Linked DNA regions of Homo sapiens: all the other regions are linked to region 5. Evidence: promoter capture Hi-C in 16 types of primary human blood cells and fetal thymus (Javierre and others, 2016). All regions are on one chromosome and are shown on one strand. Each heading gives the region's core, a stretch centred on a gene start or on the middle of the fragment in contact. The rest is flanking DNA. Distances are from core to core; before and after follow the strand shown.

Evidence for each region. Contacts are between HindIII fragments. The CHiCAGO score rates a contact against its expected background, and 5 or more counts as called.
Region 1: a contact is called between a fragment that was not itself captured here and the fragment with the promoter of ADRM1 in region 5, in 1 of 17 cell types (neutrophils). The highest score is 10.4, in neutrophils.
Region 2: a contact is called between a fragment that was not itself captured here and the fragment with the promoter of ADRM1 in region 5, in 10 of 17 cell types (activated CD4 T cells, neutrophils, naive CD8 T cells and 7 more). The highest score is 7.9, in activated CD4 T cells.
Region 3: a contact is called between a fragment that was not itself captured here and the fragment with the promoter of ADRM1 in region 5, in 5 of 17 cell types (M0 macrophages, naive B cells, total B cells and 2 more). The highest score is 8.6, in M0 macrophages.
Region 4: a fragment that was not itself captured here is called in contact with the fragment with the promoter of ADRM1 in region 5 in 3 of 17 cell types (naive B cells, erythroblasts and endothelial precursors); the score reaches 5.6 in naive B cells.
Region 6: a contact is called between a fragment that was not itself captured here and the fragment with the promoter of ADRM1 in region 5, in 1 of 17 cell types (neutrophils). The highest score is 6.0, in neutrophils.

What each region holds. Positions count from the first base shown.
Region 1 is chr20:62,036,385-62,039,585 of GRCh38, forward strand. The region is part of intron 1 of TAF4 (TATA-box binding protein associated factor 4); the gene reads right to left. It also overlaps the pseudogene RPL17P48. Among named protein-coding and RNA genes, the nearest start is that of MIR3195, 27 kb to the right of the region's middle. The HindIII fragment of the contact is 5,228 bases long and covers 1-3,201 here.
Region 2 is chr20:62,014,750-62,018,145 of GRCh38, forward strand. All of the region lies in intron 1 of TAF4 (TATA-box binding protein associated factor 4), which reads right to left. Among named protein-coding and RNA genes, the nearest start is that of MIR3195, 48 kb to the right of the region's middle. The HindIII fragment of the contact is 7,988 bases long and covers 1-3,396 here.
Region 3 is chr20:62,782,915-62,786,094 of GRCh38, forward strand. LOC105372716 (a long non-coding RNA gene) reads right to left here. Exons shown (of 4, transcript XR_936986.3): 4 at 304-915. Among named protein-coding and RNA genes, the nearest start is that of LINC00659, 7.6 kb to the left of the region's middle. The HindIII fragment of the contact is 2,684 bases long and covers 465-3,148 here.
Region 4 is chr20:62,638,226-62,641,198 of GRCh38, forward strand. LOC124904949 (a long non-coding RNA gene) reads right to left here. Exons shown (of 2, transcript XR_007067711.1): 2 at 1-2,973. Among named protein-coding and RNA genes, the nearest start is that of SLCO4A1, 2.8 kb to the right of the region's middle. The HindIII fragment of the contact is 4,159 bases long and covers 1-2,973 here.
Region 5 is chr20:62,301,519-62,304,799 of GRCh38, forward strand. ADRM1 (ADRM1 26S proteasome ubiquitin receptor) reads left to right here and starts at 1,479. Exons shown (of 10, transcript NM_007002.4): 1 at 1,479-1,531; 2 at 2,050-2,263; 3 at 2,943-3,059. The coding sequence starts at 2,051. RefSeq lists silencers at 989-1,108, 1,129-1,588. The HindIII fragment of the contact is 19,122 bases long and covers 1-3,281 here.
Region 6 is chr20:61,996,883-62,000,211 of GRCh38, forward strand. TAF4 (TATA-box binding protein associated factor 4) reads right to left here. Exons shown (of 15, transcript NM_003185.4): 11 at 3,242-3,329; 12 at 2,101-2,226; 13 at 1,254-1,310; 14 at 668-787. Among named protein-coding and RNA genes, the nearest start is that of MIR1257, 45 kb to the left of the region's middle. The HindIII fragment of the contact is 4,890 bases long and covers 1-3,329 here.

The sequences.
Region 1 (3,201 bases), core at 656-3,155, 260 kb before region 5:
ATTCGAGGAATTGAAAAGTCTGACAACACCCAGTGCTATCAAGGATATAAAATAACAGAAACTGCTGGGAGGCAAGTGAACTGTTGCAACTAACATTACTCATGCAGTACTGCAAGACAAACTGCAAGGAAATGACAGGCCAGTATCCCTCCTGAACCTACACACCAAACTGTAGCAAACTGCATGCAACTGTATATAAAAAGGATAATACATGTGACCAACAGGGGTTATGCTAGGAACTCGCCAGGGTTTAACACTCAAAATTAAATCAGTGTAATTCACCATGTTAACAGACTAAAAAAGAAAAACCATACAAGCATCCCAATACAGGAAGAAAAGCATTTTAACAAAAATAAACATCCACTCACGACAAAAATTCTCACCAAACTAGGAAAAGAAGGTGCATAGACTGAATGCCATCACAATTCATATGCTGAAACCCAATCCCCAAGGTGATGGTAGCAGAAGCGGGGGGACTTTGGGGGCCCAGCCCTCATTAACCGGATTAGCGCCCTTATGAAAGAGCCTGTCCCACAGCTGCCTTGCCCCTTCCTTCCACACTCTGAGGACACACAAGAAGCTGCATGGGAGCAGGCAGCAGGCCCTCACCAGCATGGCAATCTTGCACTTCCCAGGACTGTGAGAAATGAATTTCCGGTGTCTAGAAGCCTCCCAGTCTATGGTATTTTGTTACAGCAGCCAGAATGGCCTATGACAGAAGGGGATTCCTCAACCTAACACAGGGCCTCTATGAAAAACCTGCAGCTGACATCATGTGCGTCATGAGAGAAGACAGACTGCCTCCCCCAAGATCAGAAACAAGGCAAAATGTCCCTTCTCAACGCTTCTGTTTGTCATATTACACTGGAGGTTGTGGCCAGTGCAATGAGACAAGAACAAGAAATAAAAGGTGCACAGACCAGAAAAAAAGACATGAACCACTCTTTACTGCAGATCACGCCTATCTTTGAAGAAAATCCTAAGAAATCCACAGGATATAAAGTCAATTTTTTTTATTTTAATTGCATTTATTGTATGCTGAGTTTATTCCCATGCCACAAGTTTTTGTTTCTTCAGTTTCTTCTGGTACAGTTTTCCTCTGTGCAACTTCCTCACCTGGCTTGGGAACAAGTGTCTTTACCGTGAGGATCGTCTCAATGTGACGGGGCGCCCTGTATGGATGAACCCGACCACCAGCCCTGGAAGTCCCACAGCGCATCCTGGGTGCTCAAACACCAGAGAGCCTACATCTACACCCTCACATTCAGTGTGACTCTCCACATTTTTAATTGTGTGCAGCAAAAATTCAGCGCTCTTTTCGGGTCACCAACCCTGTGTCCAGCCCCACTGTTTGGCCTAGGTACACCTGCCAGCTCCACCCCTGCCAAGTCGGAATGGCATACACTGTTTCTATAAAGGGACGTCTTTCAGACACTTGGTGACTTCTCACGTATGCATACCCTTGATGGCCTGGGCAGTTTCACGAGCGTTCTTAAAGTGATCAAGAAGACCTGAACCTCTGGATTTGCACGATTTTGTGGGGATTTCTGGGTCAAGTGACTAATGAACCATTTTCACAGATCATCTCAGGCCGCTTGGGGAAGAGCTATAAAGTCACTATTTTTAAAAGCAATTTTTTTGTTGTTTTTTTTTTGGTTTTTTGAGACGGAGTCTCACTCTGTCGCCCAGGCTGGAGTGCAGTGGCGCGATCTCGGCTCACAGCAAGCTCCGCCTCCCAGGTTCATGCCATTCTCCTGCCTCAGCCTCCAGGTGGCTGGGACTACAGGAGCCCACCACTACGCCCGGCTAATTTTTTGTATTTTTACTAGAGACAGGGTTTCACAGTGTTAGCCAGGATGGTGTCGATCTCCTGACCTCGTGATCCACCAGCTTCGGCCTCCCAAAGTGCTGGGACTACAGGCGTGTGCCACCATGCCCAGCTAATTTTTTGTATTTTTAGTAGAGACAGGGTTTCACAGTGTTAGCCAGGATGGTCTCAATCTCCTGACCTCATGATCCGCCCGCCTCAGCCTCCCAAAGTGCTAGGATTACAGGTATGAGCCACTGAGCCACCGAGCCACTGACCCACCGCGCCCGGCCAAAAGCAATTGTTTTTCTAAATACTGGCAACAATTGGAAACAAAATTTTTTAAAGGACCACGTACATGGCATAAAATATGAATACTTAAGAATAAATTTAACAAAGTATGTTCAGGATACAAACACTGAGAACTTGAAACAACCCTGAGAAAAATCCTGAAAGGCCTAAATCAATGAAGAGGTACAACACGTTCGTGAATCAGAACACTCGATATTGCTAAGATATCAATGATCATAAAACCGATCTATAGACTCAATACAATCCCAAGCAAGATATCAAGGTATTGGCCAGGCCCAGTGGCTCACACCTGTAATCCCAGCACTTTGAGAGGCTGAGGCAGGCGGATCACCTGAGGTCAGGAATTCAAGACCAGCCTGGCCAACACGGCAAAACCCTATCTCTACTAAAAATACAAAAATTAGCCGGGTGTGGTGGCACGTGCCTGTAATCCCAGCTACTCGGGAGGCTGAGGCAGGAGACTCACTTGAACCCGGGAGTCGGAGCTTGCAGTGAGCCAAGATCGTGCCACTGCACTCCAGGAAAAGATGTGAAAGAGTGAAAAATTCCGTCTCAAAACAAACAAAAAGCTATCAAGGTATCAAGAGGCTTTTTTTGTAGAAGTTGACGAACTGATTCTGAAACACATGAATGCAAACGACCAGAACAGCCCTCAACGTTTTCGAAAAAGCAGCACTGGAGGACTCCTGCCACCCATCAACACTCCCTCTAAATGGGCTGGAAAGTGCTGAGCTGCAGAAGGGAAGACAAGGACATGAGTGGACAGAACACATCCCAGAAGTGACGTCCTCACACGTGGCCGACTGAGTTTCAATAAAGGCAGCAGCATCGTTCAATAGAGAAAGGAAGGTCTCCTCAACACATAAGGCTGGCATGATTGGTAACCACAGAAAAAATGAGTCTCAACCCCCTACCTTACAACTCTCCCAAAATTAACTTGAATTGGGTTGAGTAAGAGCTAAAGCCATAAGCATTCTAGAAAACTCCTGTACCTTGGGTTAGGCAAAAATTTATTTAAGAAGGCACAAGATGAATTCTTAAAATGACTCACTGGATTTATTTAAGAAGGCACAGGACGAATT
Region 2 (3,396 bases), core at 558-3,057, 290 kb before region 5:
AGAGCCATGAGGAGGCCCTGGCCTGACCCAGGGGAAGCTGACAGCTGTGAGAAGGAAACAAAGGAAATCAAGTCTTAAACACACGAATCCCCCAAACTCAAAACACACTTGTGAGTCAAGATGGTATACAAGACAAAAAAACTGTAAAGGTTGTTAAAAGGCCATGGAAAAAAAATGGCACCTGAGCCTTCCTTTTATGAATGAGCTGGACAGCAAGGCAGTGTAGCAATGGCTTCCACCGGCCACACCACGTGCCCCCATGCCCCCAACCAGCCCATACACCCCACAGACATGCCAGTCTCCTTGCCCCCACCTCCTGCCTGTGCCAGGGCCACGTCCGCTGGGCTGGGCCTAGAGGGCACAACCATGTCTACGGCCCATACTCCAGGGTCTCCCAGCCTGCTGTCCTGTGACACCCAGACCCAACAGAGGGAGGGTGGGCCACGAGGCTCCTCACCAGAACCCTCCTCTCGGGAGGCAGGGCAGTGCTGCCCCCACACTGCCCTGACAACCACAACACAGGCGCAGATGCGACGCAACCCTTAGGACAGGAGAACCATTTGCCCGTCATGGTTCTTGAGCTAAACCACAGGAAAGCAAATCCTGCCATTCAGGTTTGGCATTAATGTTAGCTTCAAAAAACAGCAACCAGTTATATCATAAATTCCATTAGAAACAGCAACACAATTGTCCAACTTTTAAATTTAACTTCCCATGACAGAGGTGGGGATGCAGCCGTGGGAGCAGGGCTATAAACACTGCACTCTTTCCCGAGTGAAGCCTCGGCAGACAGCCCAGCACCAAGGAGCTGAGAAACTAAACACACGTGCAATGAGGCACCGCCACCGGCCGTCCCCACCACCCATCACACACTGGCCAAGCCACGGGGCACAGGGGGCGGCCACTGCGTTTCCCAGCCTCTCCTTCCTCCCCTTTATGGAGAATGGGAAATGATAACCTCGAAAAAGATGAAGTAAGGCCTGAAAACCTCCTGTTGGTCATGATGACAAATGAGCGTGGGGCTTCCTCCTCCTGCGCTATGACGCTGGGGCACTCTCAGGGCTGTCGGCTCCAGCTCTTTCGAAACTCAGCATGGTATCAAGAATAATGGTGATGCCTCTCCTGGGCTAACATCTAAAATTCTTGATCCAAAAAGCCACATTTATGCCCATTAAGAAAACTTCCCCCCAAAACGCCCCTTTCAAAATAAACCATGCTGAAATCAAACAAAAACCAAACACCCAGCTGCAGCAAATAACCTGCTGGAATCTCCAAGCCTGGAGCTCGGGAACGAAGTAACAGGAAAGGCCTCCAAGGCTCCGTCTCCGAGTCTGTGCCCACAGTGCCCAAGGACAGCCTTCAAAGCCAGGTGGGCACTCATCAGCCATGTGGCCGCCAGAGCTGCTGCGCGTAACGAGGGAGAGTTCCACTCTCACCCAAGCACACTCGGCGCCTGGGGACCCCAAAACAAGACACCTGGTAAATACCCCCATGTATGTGGTTATTATGGAGTGTCAACTTGATTGAAGAATGCAAAGTATTGTTCCTGGGTGTGTTTGTGAGGGTGTTGCCAAAGAAGGTTAACATTTGAGTCAGCGGACTGGAAGAGGCAGACCCAGCGTCAATGTGGCTGGGCACCATCTAATCAGCTGCCAGCGTGGCTAGAATAAAGCAGGCAGAGGAACGTGGAAGGACTGGACTGGCTGAGTCCTCCGGCCTCCATCTTTCTCCAGAGCTGGATGCTTCCTGCCCTGGAACTTCAGACTCCAAGTTCTTCAGCTTTTAGACTCCTGGCCTTACACCAGTGGTTTGCCAGGGGTTCTCAGGCCTTTGGCCACAGACTGAAGGCTGCACTGTCGGCTTCCCTACTTTTGAGATCTGGGGACTCAGACTGGCTTCCGGGCTCCTCAGGTGCACACAGCCTATTGAGGGACTTCACCTTGTGATCCTGAGAGTCAATTCTCCTAATAAACTCCCCTTCATAGATTCATCTCTCCTATTAGTTCTGTCCCTTTAGAGTACGCTAATACAATGTCCTCAAACCCAACACTTCATTCACTGCATTCGGAGACACCTTGCTCCTCCTCCTCAAGAATTCTGAGAAGCCAGGGTGAGTGTGGTGGCTCACACCTGAAATCCAGCACTTTAGGAGGCCAAGATGGAGGGATCACTTGAGGCTGGTTCGAGACCAGACTGGGCAATATAGTGAGACCCCATCTTTGCAAAAAAAAAATTTTTTTTTAATTAGCCAGGCGTGGTGGCACACCTGTAGTTCCAGCTACTTGGGAGGCTAGGGTGGGAGGATCATCTGAGTCCAGGAGCTGGAAGCTGCAGTGGGCTACCATCGCATCATCACACTCCAGCCTGGACCACAGAGTGAGACCCCATCTCCTAAAAACAAAAAAAAAAAATGTTTTTAAGGAATTCTGAGAAGCCAATAATGGACGCAGACTTAAGTGCACACATGGGAATGGGACGGAAACAGGACAAAGGAGGCTTCAGTGTCCGTCCCAGTGCCTCCACACCCAATGTCAAACCTGACATTCTCATAGTGAGTGAAGAGACTTTAATTATCAGGAGCTTTGTGCTTTAAAAAATTGCATCCAAGGCCAGGCACGGTGGCTCACGCCTGTAATCCCAGCACTTTGGGAGGCCAAGGCGGGTAGATCACGAGGTCAGGAGATAGAGACCATCCTGGCTAACACGGTGAAACCCCATCTCTACTAAAAATACAAAAAAAAAAAAAAATTAGCCAGGCATGGTGGCGGGCCCCTGTAGTCCCAGCTACTTGGGAGGCTGAGGCAGGAGAATGGCATTAACCTGGGAGGCAGAGCTTGCAGTGAGCTGAGATCGTGCCGCTGCACTCCAGTCTAGGCGACAGAGCGAGACTCCGTCTCAAAAAATTAAAATAATAATTTAAAAAAATTGCATCCAAAAAATTAGCCAGGTGTGGTGGTGCATGCCTGTAATCCAGCTACTTCAGAAGCTGAAGCAGAATCGCTTGAACCTGGGAGGCGGAGGTTGCAGTGAGCCGAGATTGCACCACTGCACTCCAGCCTGGACGACAGAGCAAGAGTCCACCTCAAAAAAAAAGAAAAAAAAAAGTATCCAGATATATTTAAAGGAATACGTTCAAAAAAAAAAGTATTAACAAAATAGCAATGTGGTTAAAATTCTAACAAAATAAAAGTGGCATTCTGGACATCACAGAAGTGTAGGGAAACAGCCATGGGTCACTGTGAAAATGTGCCCTGTGGTCGGGCCCAGTGTCCCTTGTGGTCAGGAAAGTTGGAGAAGGAATCAAACGTCCCACAAGAAGTGACCATGTGACTTCAGGCAGGTACAACGTAGCTTCTCGAGGCATTGAAAATATCTGTGAACCAAGCGCGAGTGGCC
Region 3 (3,180 bases), core at 557-3,056, 480 kb after region 5:
TAAGGCAGGAGGCGGAGGCAGAGAGAGTCGAGGTAAGGACATGACCTGGTTTTGCTCTGAAGATGGAGGATGGAGCCGTGAGCCAGAGAACGGAGCAGCCTCCAGAAGCTGGGAGCAGCCTTTGGCCAACAGCCAGCAAGGATGTGGGACCCAGGTCCTGCAACTGTAGGGCCTGGATTCTGACAACAGCTTGTCAGAGCAGGAAGCCAGTTCTTCCTGGAGCCTCCCAGCAAGAACCCTGCTGGCTGAAACCTCAATTTCAGCCTCATGAGACCTTGAACAGAAAAACCAGAAGAACCCGCGAGAACCTCTGACCTCCAGAGCATGAGATGAAAAATGGACGTTGGTTTACGCTGCTACATTTGTTATAATTTGTCCCAGCAGCAGTGGGAAACACACAGTATCCCCCTTGCCTGCTCTGCTGATAGAAAGGTACATTGTTTTCAACCTTCTGCTATGAAGAAAGCTTTGCATTAACTCTCCTTGCTCATATGCACATGGAGTGGAGGACAAATCTGCTGTCAAGCCCTGAATTGGGTTTTTGAGACACTGTCCGTCCAAACACCCACAGTGTGCCCCTGTGCAGAGGCTATGCGTACACAAGGCCCCACCATCCACAGGACGACAGAGGCTGGCTTGGCCAGCCCAAGACCATCCGGCCCCTCAGGAGCTGCCTGACTCCAGGAGCTCGTAGGCCATGCCCCGGCTCCCCCTGGGCAGGCTGCCTCCTGGGTCTGAGTGGGGAACAGGAAGGCCTCAGCCTCTCAGGTCAACAGAAAGTTTGTGCTCAGATGGGCTGAATGTTCCGGGTCCATTTCCTCCTCAAGCCCAGAAGGGTTTGCTTTGCAGGAACCTGTTCCAAGTGATTTCGAAGTACTCAAAGGCTCTTTGGTGGATGTGTCAGGATCCCAATTCCTGAAATAAGAAAGTTGTGTCAAAAATCACAAAAGACGCTGGGCGCGGTGGCTCACATTTGTAATCCCAGCACTTTGGGAGACCGAGGTGGGCAGATCACTTGAGTTTAGGAGTTCAAGACCAGCCTGGCCAGTATGGTGAAACCCTGTCTCTATTAAAAATACAACAATTAGCTCGGTGTGGTGGCAGGTGTCTGTAATCCCAGCTACTTGGGAGGCTGAGGCAGGAGAATCACTTGAACCCAGGAGGTGGAGGTTGCAGTGAGCCGAGATCATCGCGCCCCTGCACTCCAGCCTGGGCGACAGAGTGAGACTGCATCTCAAAAATAAATAAAATCAAAAGGAACTGGCCTGGCCCAACATCCTGGCCGCTGCGTCCTCCTCGCTGCAAAGTCAGATTCCTCGCTCCCGCTGTGGGGTTTCCTGGACCCCTGCCCACAGTCTGCTAAGTGCCTAACCTGGCCACTATTGGAGCCCCCGATCCCACAGAGGTGGCTGTTCAGAGAGAAGCGGTGGGCCCAGTGTTCCCCAGGCCACACTCCACAAGTAGGTGCAGGAAGAAGAGAGGTGACACTTGGGGCTGCTGGGGCTCAGCCCCTCCAGGGCCCTCAAGAGGGGTGTATAAGCCTCCCACCCAGGGGTGACGAGCTGGGTGCTCCCCACCAACACCCGCTGGCATCAGCAGCAGCTGATCCTAGGGCATCACCTGCCCGAAAGCCAAGGAAGCCCCTTGCAGAGGGCAGCGTATCTGGCAGTGGCCACTCGGGTGGGGCCGCCTTCCTCAAGCTCCCAACCCAGCAAGGACTCCCTTGCCTCAGGCTCTCCCCTGCCTCTCTCTCAGCCGCGTGAGCACGGCTCTGGGCACCGCACCTGCACCCAGCAGAACTGTGCTAACCGGGCCAGATCTCCAGGGGCCAACACAGCCTGGCCTCTAGGACGGGCCACGCTGCGAGGGAGGGAGGCAAGTGTGGGGAGGCCGGATTCCACCTGTTTGGTTTTTGATTAGGGAATGGCAGAAACCCAGGCCTCCCGGGGCAGGGATTCAGCTCTCCTAACGGAGGCAGCCTTGGTGGGGGATACTTTTCAGCAGGGACTCTTTTATCCCAGAGTGTTTTTGCTGTGTGCGCGATGACTGGCTCAGTTTTTGTAATAATCGTTTCCATCAGCATAGAGACAGCTGTTTATATTCTTCAACTTTGTATTATGAAAAACGTCAGACAGAAAAGTCGAGAGACTAGTATCGCATGCACCTGTGTGCACAGCATCCAGATTCAACAGTTACGAAGGGAAAATTCCACATTTTATTTTAAATTTACTAAAGACTGAAACACACCAAGTACCGCAGGAAGGATAACCTGGGTGGAGGAGGGATGGGGCTGGAGAGTCGGGGCACAAGGGTGAGGGGAATGGGGTGGGTGGGACAGAGGTGGGGGATGGAGGGTGGGGTAGCATGGGGTGGAGTGGGGGATGGAAGGTGGGATGGGGCTGGGTGGGACCGGGTGGGGAGATGGAGGGTGGGGTGAGGCAGAGGTGGGGGAATTGATGGGCGGGTGGAGGTGGGTGAGGGTAGGGTGGGATGGGTGAGACATGGGAGGGATGGAGCATGGGGTGAGGCAGAGGTGAGGGGATGAAGGGCGGGGTGGGCCAGGGGCAGCCCCCAGTGCCCACAGCTGGAGCAGGCGAGGGGCAGGAGGGAGCGGCTGCCTGCCCCTGCGCTGGGTGGGCCCTGGGGCGCCCCCTGGCCTGCTGCCAGGTCTCCTGAAGGAGGGGTTTGTTCCCGCCTCCCGAGCCCACAGTCTGGTCTGTGTGTGCCTGTGTCTGTTGACAACTCCATGAGTGAACTGTGATACGTCAAGGCTTGGGGGAAGTGTGGGAAATGCTTGTGATTTTCTTTCTCTGTAGAAGTGGAGCAGAGAGAAAGCAGCTCCCACAGCGTGAGCGCCTGATACAGAGGAGACCCGGGGCTTGGAGGCCTTAGGCATTCACTCCAAAGACCTGAGAATTAAGGGAACGCGGCGGGGCCTCTTGCCCAGACCTGGAAGAACAGCAAGTGCTGCGAGGGCCTCTGCACCCCCTGAGGACCCCTACGCCCCCCGAGGACCCCTGTGCCCTGTGAGGGCCCCTGCACCCCTGGGCCTGGGTGGAGACCCACACACAACCCCACTATTCCAGGGGAAGAGAAAGGGGCCCTGTGGGGCTTGTCAACCATCACAGACCCAGAGACTCTGGGCAGAAGCTTCTGCCTGTCACGCTCAGCCTGCGACGG
Region 4 (2,973 bases), core at 71-2,570, 340 kb after region 5:
GCCATCTCGCCAGGCAGGGAAGTCCAGATTCCAATTTTTTCTACCCCACACCTAATCTCTAACAGCAGGCTCTGAACACACAGGAATCAGTTGGTGGCTTCTAAAGAGAACATGATACCGTCATGTAGCTGCCTGTCCAGACGCTGAAGCCTGTGCTTTCACCGGACCCTAGTGCTTGTGAATGACGACCTCTGTTCTCCTGGGTCAAAACTTCCTTCACCACCGTCAAGAAGGCCACCCTTTGTCGGCGGGTTAAATGCAGTGTTATTTACATATGGTTTATCTGGGCATCTATAATCCCAGGGCGAGAGCCCACCATCCACCAGCATTTTGGAAGAACGCCTGAGACCTGAGACCTGAGACCTGGTGCAATGGAATCAGATTCCCTGGTAGCTGCTTTTAATGGTGACAGATTCTCTGAAACAGAAAAAGATTGAATTGAGTCTGTCTCCCTGGAGTCGTCCTGCTCTGGGAGATGCAGAGGGAGGGCGGCAGGAGGGAGGACAGTGGGAGGCCTCTGTTGGTCAATTGCTAGGCTGCTGTCACCAGATGGTGGATGGCGTTTGTACAGCACTGGCCAAGGGCCCAGCTCAGCAGGGCCAGAGCCTCAGGTCATGTCGCAGGTGAGCAAAGCAGCGTGGATGGAAGACGAAGATCTTCGTCCCACGGAGGGCTTGCTGTGCGCCCCGCAGGACGCAGATCACCGGGAAGAGCAGGAAGCAGAAGCGCAGGAAAGCCAATGCTGTGACTGAGGCGTGGCCAGCAAGCCAGGCCCTCCAGCCACACCCTGCTCCAAAGGGGCTCCGACAGGATGGACTGATGATTTCCAAGAGAGAACATGCTTTTTATCTTCTATGGAATTTTGCTACCAAAGAGCCTCCCAGCTACCTGTGCCCTTCCCTAACCTGACAATCTTAATTCCCCCATGAAACTCCTCCATCGCGGACATTTGGACAACTCCAGGCTGAGTTTTTCCTAAGGCCACTCTGGCCTTGTGCGTCTCTTCTTTGCTAAGCTGTGTGCCAGCCGCCAGCCCACATCTGGGTTGTACCATGATCCTAACTCCTCACCTGAACACAGCATTTAACAGACTGAAACGTGCCACTCTGGAGCTGGGGACTTCAAGCCACATTTCGCCTGCAGCCCGATCGCCTTCAATCTTTAGCAAAATCCTCTTTCTCATGCAAAACAGTGCAGTCGTAACTTTTAAAATATTTTTTAGAAACTTTCTCTAGAGCCTCCACCACATGGCCACAGCCTGAGACTTTGAAATAATGAAACAATTAAATGATGTTTTCATCATTTCTGAGACTTGCCCATTATCACGAAGCTGAAATGGCCATTTTTTTATAAGTCAAGGAAGGACAGGCAGTTTCAAATGAGTTGGCTAAGACATACGCCAAATTCATAGAAAATAGAAATGAACTATGACTACAGAATGGAAGCAACCACAGAAATATTAGCAGGATTTTAAGTATTATCCCAATCAAGTACTAATAGCTAAGTGAGGTCATTTTTTGGATACCATTCCTGGTCAAAGCTAGGAATGATGTGTGTTCCAGGCTGGACCCTCCAGGCAGAGGCACCGGGATCCCACGCTGTTTCTGGGTTGGCCATTAACCTGCCCCTTGACCTGACAGCGTTTCTCTCTCTTCTCTCTCTACACTTCTCTTCTGATCTTTAGATCGATTTTCCTCCAAGTGACAATGTCCATAAAGAGAGAGGGAGGTGGAAATACAGGCTGTCACATTTCAGCTCTTTGAGGTGCCTCTAAAGATGATGTCAGAGAACAGTAAGTGGCCCACAAATGTGCAGCATCTGTTCCGAGCCTCCTGAAGCCGCCCGGACAGGCAGCAGTACGACCCTGCAAGGCCACAGGGGAGCCAGGGGGTTCTCGCTTTCTTTTTCTTTTAATTATTTCCTCTCAAAAAAGAAAAAAAAAAAAGAAAAGAAAGAAAAAAAGCCCTGCTGGGATAGAACTTATTGAGTTCAGAATGTTCCAGGGCACATAATCAGGCTGCCCTTGTTCCAAGACACTGCTGTGCTCTGTAGCTGACCCCCGAGTCCTCTAGGGCAAGAGTAAGGACACAGTCGGCTCCCGAAAGCTGGTGCAGATGGACCCCACCACGCAGGGCCTGGAGTTGGGCCAGACCTGCAGACCCCCTTGATGGCCTGCGGCAGGACCCTTCACCTGGGTCAAGGCCTCCTGGTGCTCCTAGGGGCCTCTTGAGGAGCCTGGGCACCAGCATTTGCCTTTGAGGACAGGACTGAGGGCCTGCATTTTGCACGAATGTACCTGAAATGTTTGCTCTGGATTTACCTTTCCAATGGTGCCTATGCAGGAATCCCAAAGAATGCCTGGTGGGGTCTGAGGCGGGTCTCAGGCCGGGAGCCCTCCACAGGCAGCAATATTTGGCTAGAATTTAATGCCATTTTGTTTCTTTTTATCTATTTTTATGGTGACCTCTTTGTGGTAATTGACACTGACTTTTTAAAAAATAAACTTACCCTTTTAATCAAATGTGTGAATTGTTTAAAGGAAAAACATTGTGTAAATAATGTTTTCAGGGGGTAGAATCCAGACGTGAGTTTTGGAAACAGAGTCCAGTCCTGCTTCTGACATTTGAATTGCTTCTCCAGCATCATCACCAGAAGATGGGCTACCTGTGCTCACAAGCCTCCTGTAACACGGAGCTCACCACCTCTCAAAGGCACCTTCTGTCAGGTCTGCCTGGAAATGCTGCTCCCGCAGACTCCGCACCTGAGGCCAGGTCTGCAGCGAAGCTCATCCACACCTGAGGCCAGGTCTGCAGCGAAGCTCAGCCCCCTTCCTTCACAGGAGAAATACTTCTGGGTGTGCACCTTCCACTCCTGGCAGGGCCGTGAGCCCCTGTGGCAGTGCCTCACCCTCTGGGAGGGACCCTCTCCATCTGGGAACAATGTGGGTACTTTTTTCTCTTAAAGGGCAGTGTC
Region 5 (3,281 bases), core at 229-2,728:
AACCTGAGGACCCTGGCACAGTCTCAGCTGCAAACATCTAGTCTTGCTTAACTGGGGTGCAGAGGCCACTGCACCTCAGGGTTCTCACGAAGCGCCTGACCTCTCTATTTTATTACTATTATTATTATTATTTTTTTTTTTTGAGAAGGAGTCTTCCTCTGTCGCCCAGGCTGGAGTGCAGTGGTGCAATCTCGGCTCACTGCAACCTCCACCTCCCGGGTTCAGGCGATTCTCGTGCATCAGCCTCCTGAGTAGATGGAATTACAGGCATGTGCCAGCATACCTGGCTAATTTTTGCATTTTTAGTAGAGTCGGGGTTTCATTCACCATGTTGCCCAGGCTGGTCTTGAACTCCTGGCCTCAAGTAATCCGCCCGCCTCGGCCTCCCAAAGTTCTGGGTTTACAGGCGTGAGCCACCGCGCCTGAGCCCTCTAAGAGCCCCCGCCTGGCGTCGCTGTAGGCAAATCCCAAAGAACGTGTCCCTTCAGCAGCCGGCTGGGGCGCCACAAACACTATCTGTTGTCTTCGCTTTAGTTTGTGTCAAAGTGACTCAAAGTTACACAACACTGGCGGGCGACTGCCGCCTTTTTACCCTGTGGCCTTTCCCATCCAGGCGTCCAGAGGGTGAGCCCCTGCCCTCCAGGACCCCTCCCTTCCAGGACCCTACCCGTCTGGGACTCAGGCCTTCCCTGACTCCTCCCTCCCGGACTCACCCCTCCCAGATCCCTCCCCTCCGGGACCCTCTCCCCTCCCGGGCCCCCTCCCCTCCGGGAACCCCTCCCCTCCCGGACTCACCCCTCCCAGATCCCTCCCCTCCAGGAGCCCCTCCCCTCTCGGGACCCCTCTCCTCCCGGACCCACCCCTTCCTGACCCCTGCCCTCCCGGACCCCTGCGGGACTAGATGTATACAGCTGAGACCATATCACGGTTCTCACCCTCGCTCTACCCTCCCGGACCCCTGCTCTCCCGGACGCGTGGACTCCAGCTCCCGCCTGGGTCCCCAAAGCGCTGAACCCATGGTCACTTCTATGCGTAGCCCTGGTGCCCGCCGCCCACAGCCGGACCGCACTCCTCGGCCTCCGCCTAACCCCTGGCTCAGCCACACGAGTGACAGCTCTGCCCGCCCGGGCGGGCGACGCCGAGGGGTGGGCTCGGCCCCACCTGAGCAGTTCCCCAGCGCCCCTCTGAAACCCGCCTGTGGTCCCTGGCGCCGCCTCTAGGGGCCGCCGCCGCTCCCCTATGACACAGCAACAATAGGGGCCGCTCTGGTCCAAGCGCCCTGCGGCCCGCGCTTCCGCCGGAAAAGAGCCGCCGGCGCGGGGGCGGACCGGGGAGGAGCGAGTGCGATGGACGGTCGCCCTCGCCAATCGTTGGCAGGTTAGAGCCGGCTGCGCGGCTTACGGGGCTCAATCGGCGGCGAGAGCGGCAGGCGGGGCGGGCCGAACGCGGGTTTCCGGCGGGGCCCGGCAGGCGCCGAGGAGGAAGAGCGAGCCCGGACGGCGCCTCTCGAACGAGTGTGGGCGCGAGGCAGGTGCGGGAGTCGCCGGGCCTGGGGCGGCCGGGGGCGACCGGAGGCGGGGGCAGGGGCTGCTGGACCAAGGATGGGGCGGGGGCAGCCAAGACGAGAAGGTGGCCGGCGCGGCGGGTGGGGCCTGCGGGGGCCGGGCCGGGCGGGGGTTCTGGGGTCTCGGGCGCCGCCCCGGTTCCGCCTGCGGCTCTGAACGTGGGGCTCGGCGGGAGCTCGGGCGGGTCTGCCCCGCGGAGCGGGTCGCCGGGGTGGCGCGTCGAGGCTGGTGCCCCGCGGAGACGGCGTCAAGCCTAGGGCCGGCCCCACTAGGCTTGGCGGGGCTGCCCCGGCCCAGCGCCGAGTGCGGGCGGTGCGATCGTCGTGAGCGGGGCAAACGCGGAAAGGCAGCCCGGCGTGTCTGAGTCTGCCTTAGGCAGCTCTGGGCGCAGGCCCCCTGCTCGCAAACACCCCAGGGGGCGGGAGCTTGCCGGACCGCAGGCGACAGTGACCGCCGCGTCTCAGCGTCCTCTCCGCGCTTTCAGGATGACGACCTCAGGCGCGCTCTTTCCAAGCCTGGTGCCAGGCTCTCGGGGCGCCTCCAACAAGTACTTGGTGGAGTTTCGGGCGGGAAAGATGTCCCTGAAGGGGACCACCGTGACTCCGGATAAGCGGAAAGGGCTGGTGTACATTCAGCAGACGGACGACTCGCTTATTCACTTCTGCTGGAAGGACAGGACGTCCGGGAACGTGGAAGACGTGAGTGTCCCTGAGCCGCAGCAGCAGGACAGGCGACTTCTCGGGCCCTCGGAGTCCTCGCTTTGGAGTTCGCGGTGGGGGCTTGGCCGCATCTGGGGACCGCTCGTGGGGCCGTCATCGACTGCCCTGCTGATGGGTCGTCCTGGTTTCCGCGGTGACAGGGGCATCTCGGCCACTGTGTATCTTGAACTGTCCGTGTGAGGTGCCTGGGTTGGAGGTGTGGCCCTGGAGAGCCCGGAGCTCTGTGCCTGGCCTTGAACTGTCCGTGTGAGGTGCCTGGGGTTGGAGGTGTGGCCCTGGAGAGCCTGGAGCTCTGTGCCTGGCGGCTTCACTCAGTCTTCTTTGTTTTTCAAACTCTTAGTTGTTCTTTGTTACATTTGAGAGCAGTTCAGCGTTGACTTTTTAACTACTCTGGGAATGTTGTTTCCAGCACGTCTCAGAAACCCCGTTGCCATCTGAAAGGCCCCTTTCCCTGCTCTCTCCCCCGGCCTTGCCTTTCATGGGCTGTCTCTGACCCTGGCTTCTCTGCCTTGTGGAGACCCTGCCAGCGAGGGGTCTGGCGGCTTAGCTGCCCCTTGCGCACCCCACCCGGTTAGACCCAGGGCTCAGTACGCTCTCCTGAGACTGGGCACAGTGATGCCATCTGCGCCACTGACTCTCTCTTCCCCTGGCTTGCCAGGACTTGATCATCTTCCCTGACGACTGTGAGTTCAAGCGGGTGCCGCAGTGCCCCAGCGGGAGGGTCTACGTGCTGAAGTTCAAGGCAGGGTCCAAGCGGCTTTTCTTCTGGATGCAGGTATGGGGCAGGCCTTGGGGTTGTGCCTTTTTGTTGCCCTGCGATTCGGTTAGGAACTTGCTTACAGTGTGGTGCAATTGGCTTTTATAAACCAGCAGGCGCCGGCCACACCCGGCCACACGGCCTGAGATGCCACCTCAGGGCTGCGGTGCATGCTACCTGGGGCCGAGGTCCTCTCCCAGAGTACGGAGGCTCCAGGCTGGGCTGCGGGCAACCGATTGC
Region 6 (3,329 bases), core at 468-2,967, 300 kb before region 5:
CACAAGAAATCCCAACAGCTCTCCTTCAAGCCAAAAGGAAATGGTGGCAGACGGAAACAGACCCACGGGAAGGAATGAAGAGTACCGGAGATGGCAAATAAGGAGGGAAACATAAAAGACCGTTTTCTTTCTTCCTGTAATTTACTTAAAAAAAAACAACTGACAGTTGAAAGCAAAAATAACATGTCAAGGCTGGGTTTATAATTATTAGACTAAAAGATACAACCACAAACATAGACGAGAAACTAATGGAATTTGGAGAAACAGCAGCGGGCAGCAATTCTTCCCCTTCATTCCACGAACTGTCCATTCTCCTACAGCAGCTTATCCCACAGACACTGTGCAGGAAGCACAATCAGCAAGATCCCTATTCGGATCATTCTTCTGACAGTTATAACTTCCCCACATCCTTTTCAAATCCAGCCTAAACCTCATCACAGTAATCAAACTTCCTCACGAAAAAGACTTTCAGCTCAAGTGATAGCCACAAATAAGCTGATTTGGATTTAAAATGTCAAACGTAAAACAAATACTCCAGAAAAGGTGAGACAAAATGTAAATGGTAAGAAAGCAAATTCCCCTATGTGTGTCCGTCCCCTAGAAGAGGGTGGCTCTAAGATGTTCCCCATGTTTCCCCCAGGACCTCGATCCCACAACACTGCCGTACCTCTGCTCCTGAGCCCGGCCCCGGACAGTCCACTTTCCTCTTTTTCCTGGGCCCGATCGCTGCTAGTGCTGTGAGGTTGGCGTCCCGCTGTCTCATTTGTGCCAGTTCCTGTTGCTGCATCTTTTATTTTGAAAAGGAGACAAGGAGCATCATTTCTTGCATGTTTTTTACTTACTACAAAAGTAATACATAGATATGAAAGGGTTTTCTGTAGTTTTCTAAATCATAACTTCTTTAATGTTTTGACTTTCTCAATAGTAAGCATATTCTATAATCCAAAAAATAAGATTTTTTTTAATGCAACAGATGTTTGTCTTAAAACTCTCAGAAAATATACGCAAGTCAAAAGCACAGAGACTAATGCCCCCCGCAAAGGGAAGTCACCGTTGAATTTAAAAGTAGGACACCAACTGTTTGCACAGGAAAATACCTCTGATGTTGTATTTATTTAAACTTGGCAAACATTTTAAACAGACACGCAAATGCCTATCGTACAGAAGTGCCACGGTTTCCTTAGCCCCCCTCCCGTGGGGCGCTACAGTGCACAGCAAAGTGCCCACGAGCACTCACGACTAACAGGGCTCACCTCCTTTGCCTTCTGTTTCAGCCTTAACTGTTCTGGATCTTCTTGTCTTGACCGAGACTATTTTTGAAAGAGGCAGAAAAGAAAAGTAAGTTATGAACTAAATGTTTATCATTTAACAAATGTGTTATCTTATTTACTATACAATAACATCTAGGTAATGTTAAAGAATGCATAGCAAATTTGTGAAATGCTTATAGCCAAAGATGAAAATTTACATCACACACCATGAAAAAAGCCAGTAATCTTGAGAAAAGTCAGTAACATTTGGATGTAAGATACAGTCTTTGAAACACATCTACCAATCGCAGGCTCTGACTTGACCTGATGTGACCGCATGATGGCAGGCAGAATGGGCCTCATAGGCTCCTTGCTGTCCTGTCCCACACACCAGGGACGGGACAGCCTGTGGCTGTGATCAAAGCAAGTGCTCCTCCCACTCCACAGTACCCACCCCCGTCCCTGGGGAACTGTGGTCTCCTGTCTGATTCTATTAATGAGCAGTGCCTCGCCTGGCTGTGAATGTTCTAGAACAAGGACAACGTGAGTGTGAAGAGTCCAGTCCAGCGCACACAGGGGGCTCTAGGAACATGTGCTTCACACCTGGGTGTGACTGTGTGGAGCGTGAGGTGCTGGGAATCTTAAGAAGCCCCGCTTTTCAAGCATCTACGCTAGTGCCAAATGAATGAGGCTTCTCTTTGCAGCTCCACTGACAGCACCCATCACCTTTGCTTCAAGGCCAGCCCAAAACATGCTCTGACCACCCAAAACCCCACTGTCTCAGTGAGCTCATCAGGTTGTGGCTGAGACGGAGGTGCCCAGACGGCAGCAGCAGACACCCAGCACTCGCCTTTGCTGCCCTCATCAGGATCTCCCGCTCCTGCTCATCCTTCCTCTGCTTTTCGATTTGATCAAGCTGTTCAAAAAACTTGAGCTGTGCCCGGACGTCACTCGCCTGCTCATATCTGTCGTCATCCTATGAAGAAAGTTAAAATACTGCTTGTCATAAATCTGAGAGCCCAGCAAGCAAAGGGGTTGTCTAGCACCACTGGACCATCCGTGCACAACGCCCTCCCTCCGTCCAGTCTGAATGCGGCGAGGACCCGATCCCTCCCACCCTGCAAATGCTGCGCCCGAGAGCTCTATCGATGCTCACGTCCACAGAACGAAGTCTCGTGTTGGCTGTCTCAGGGGCACACTTGTGGGAGAGTGTCCCTTTTATACACTTTGATGCTGTCAGATTTCTTAAAGTAACATTTACCTTTTTTGCTGCAACACAGAACTACTTTTACAGCAAGGGCTAAGTGTGTTTATTTCAGTGCTGCCCTGAAGGCACTGCCTCCCGGCTGTGGCAGCAGGCACCACCTCACCCAGTGTGCCCTTGGAAGAGTGTTCATATGTGACTGCTGGTGAGGAAGGCACGTTTTACTTGGAAGAGCTGCTTCATGAGAATAGGGCTGCGGCACCTCAGGGTCTGCCAGTTCAGCCCATGGCCCAGAGAGAGAGGCAGGTGCCTTCCAAAAGGTAAACCCGCCAGGCATAGAGGCTCATGCCTGTAATCCCAGCATTTAAGGAGGCCAAGTCAGGAGGATCACTTGAGGCAAGGAGTTTAGGACCAGCCTGGGCTACATCGCGAGTCCCTGTCCCTTTTATTAAAAATACAAAAATTAGTTGGGCACGGTGGTGTGCGCCTGTAATCCCAGCTACTTGGGAGGCGAAGGCACAAGAATCGCTTGAACCCACGAGGCGGAGGCTGCAGTGAGCCAAGACTGCGCCACTGAACTCCAGCCTGGGCAACAGAGTGAGACCCTACCTCAAAAAGAAATCTTTCCAAAATCTAGTCCTATAAGAAATCCAAAACACGTTCGTAAGGAACATGGAGGCACTTGGGACCCACCGCCCTCTGCCTCGGTGTGGGGAGGAGGCTCCCAGCCAGCAGAGAGTGGGGGCCAACAACATAAAGACGCTCTCCTCGGCAAACAGCCTGTTACCTTGTAAGAAAAGTTCTTCTGCTGAGCTGTTTCTGATATTTTCTCTACAAGATTCTGTAGCCTTTGTTGCGTGGCATGTGATACATAA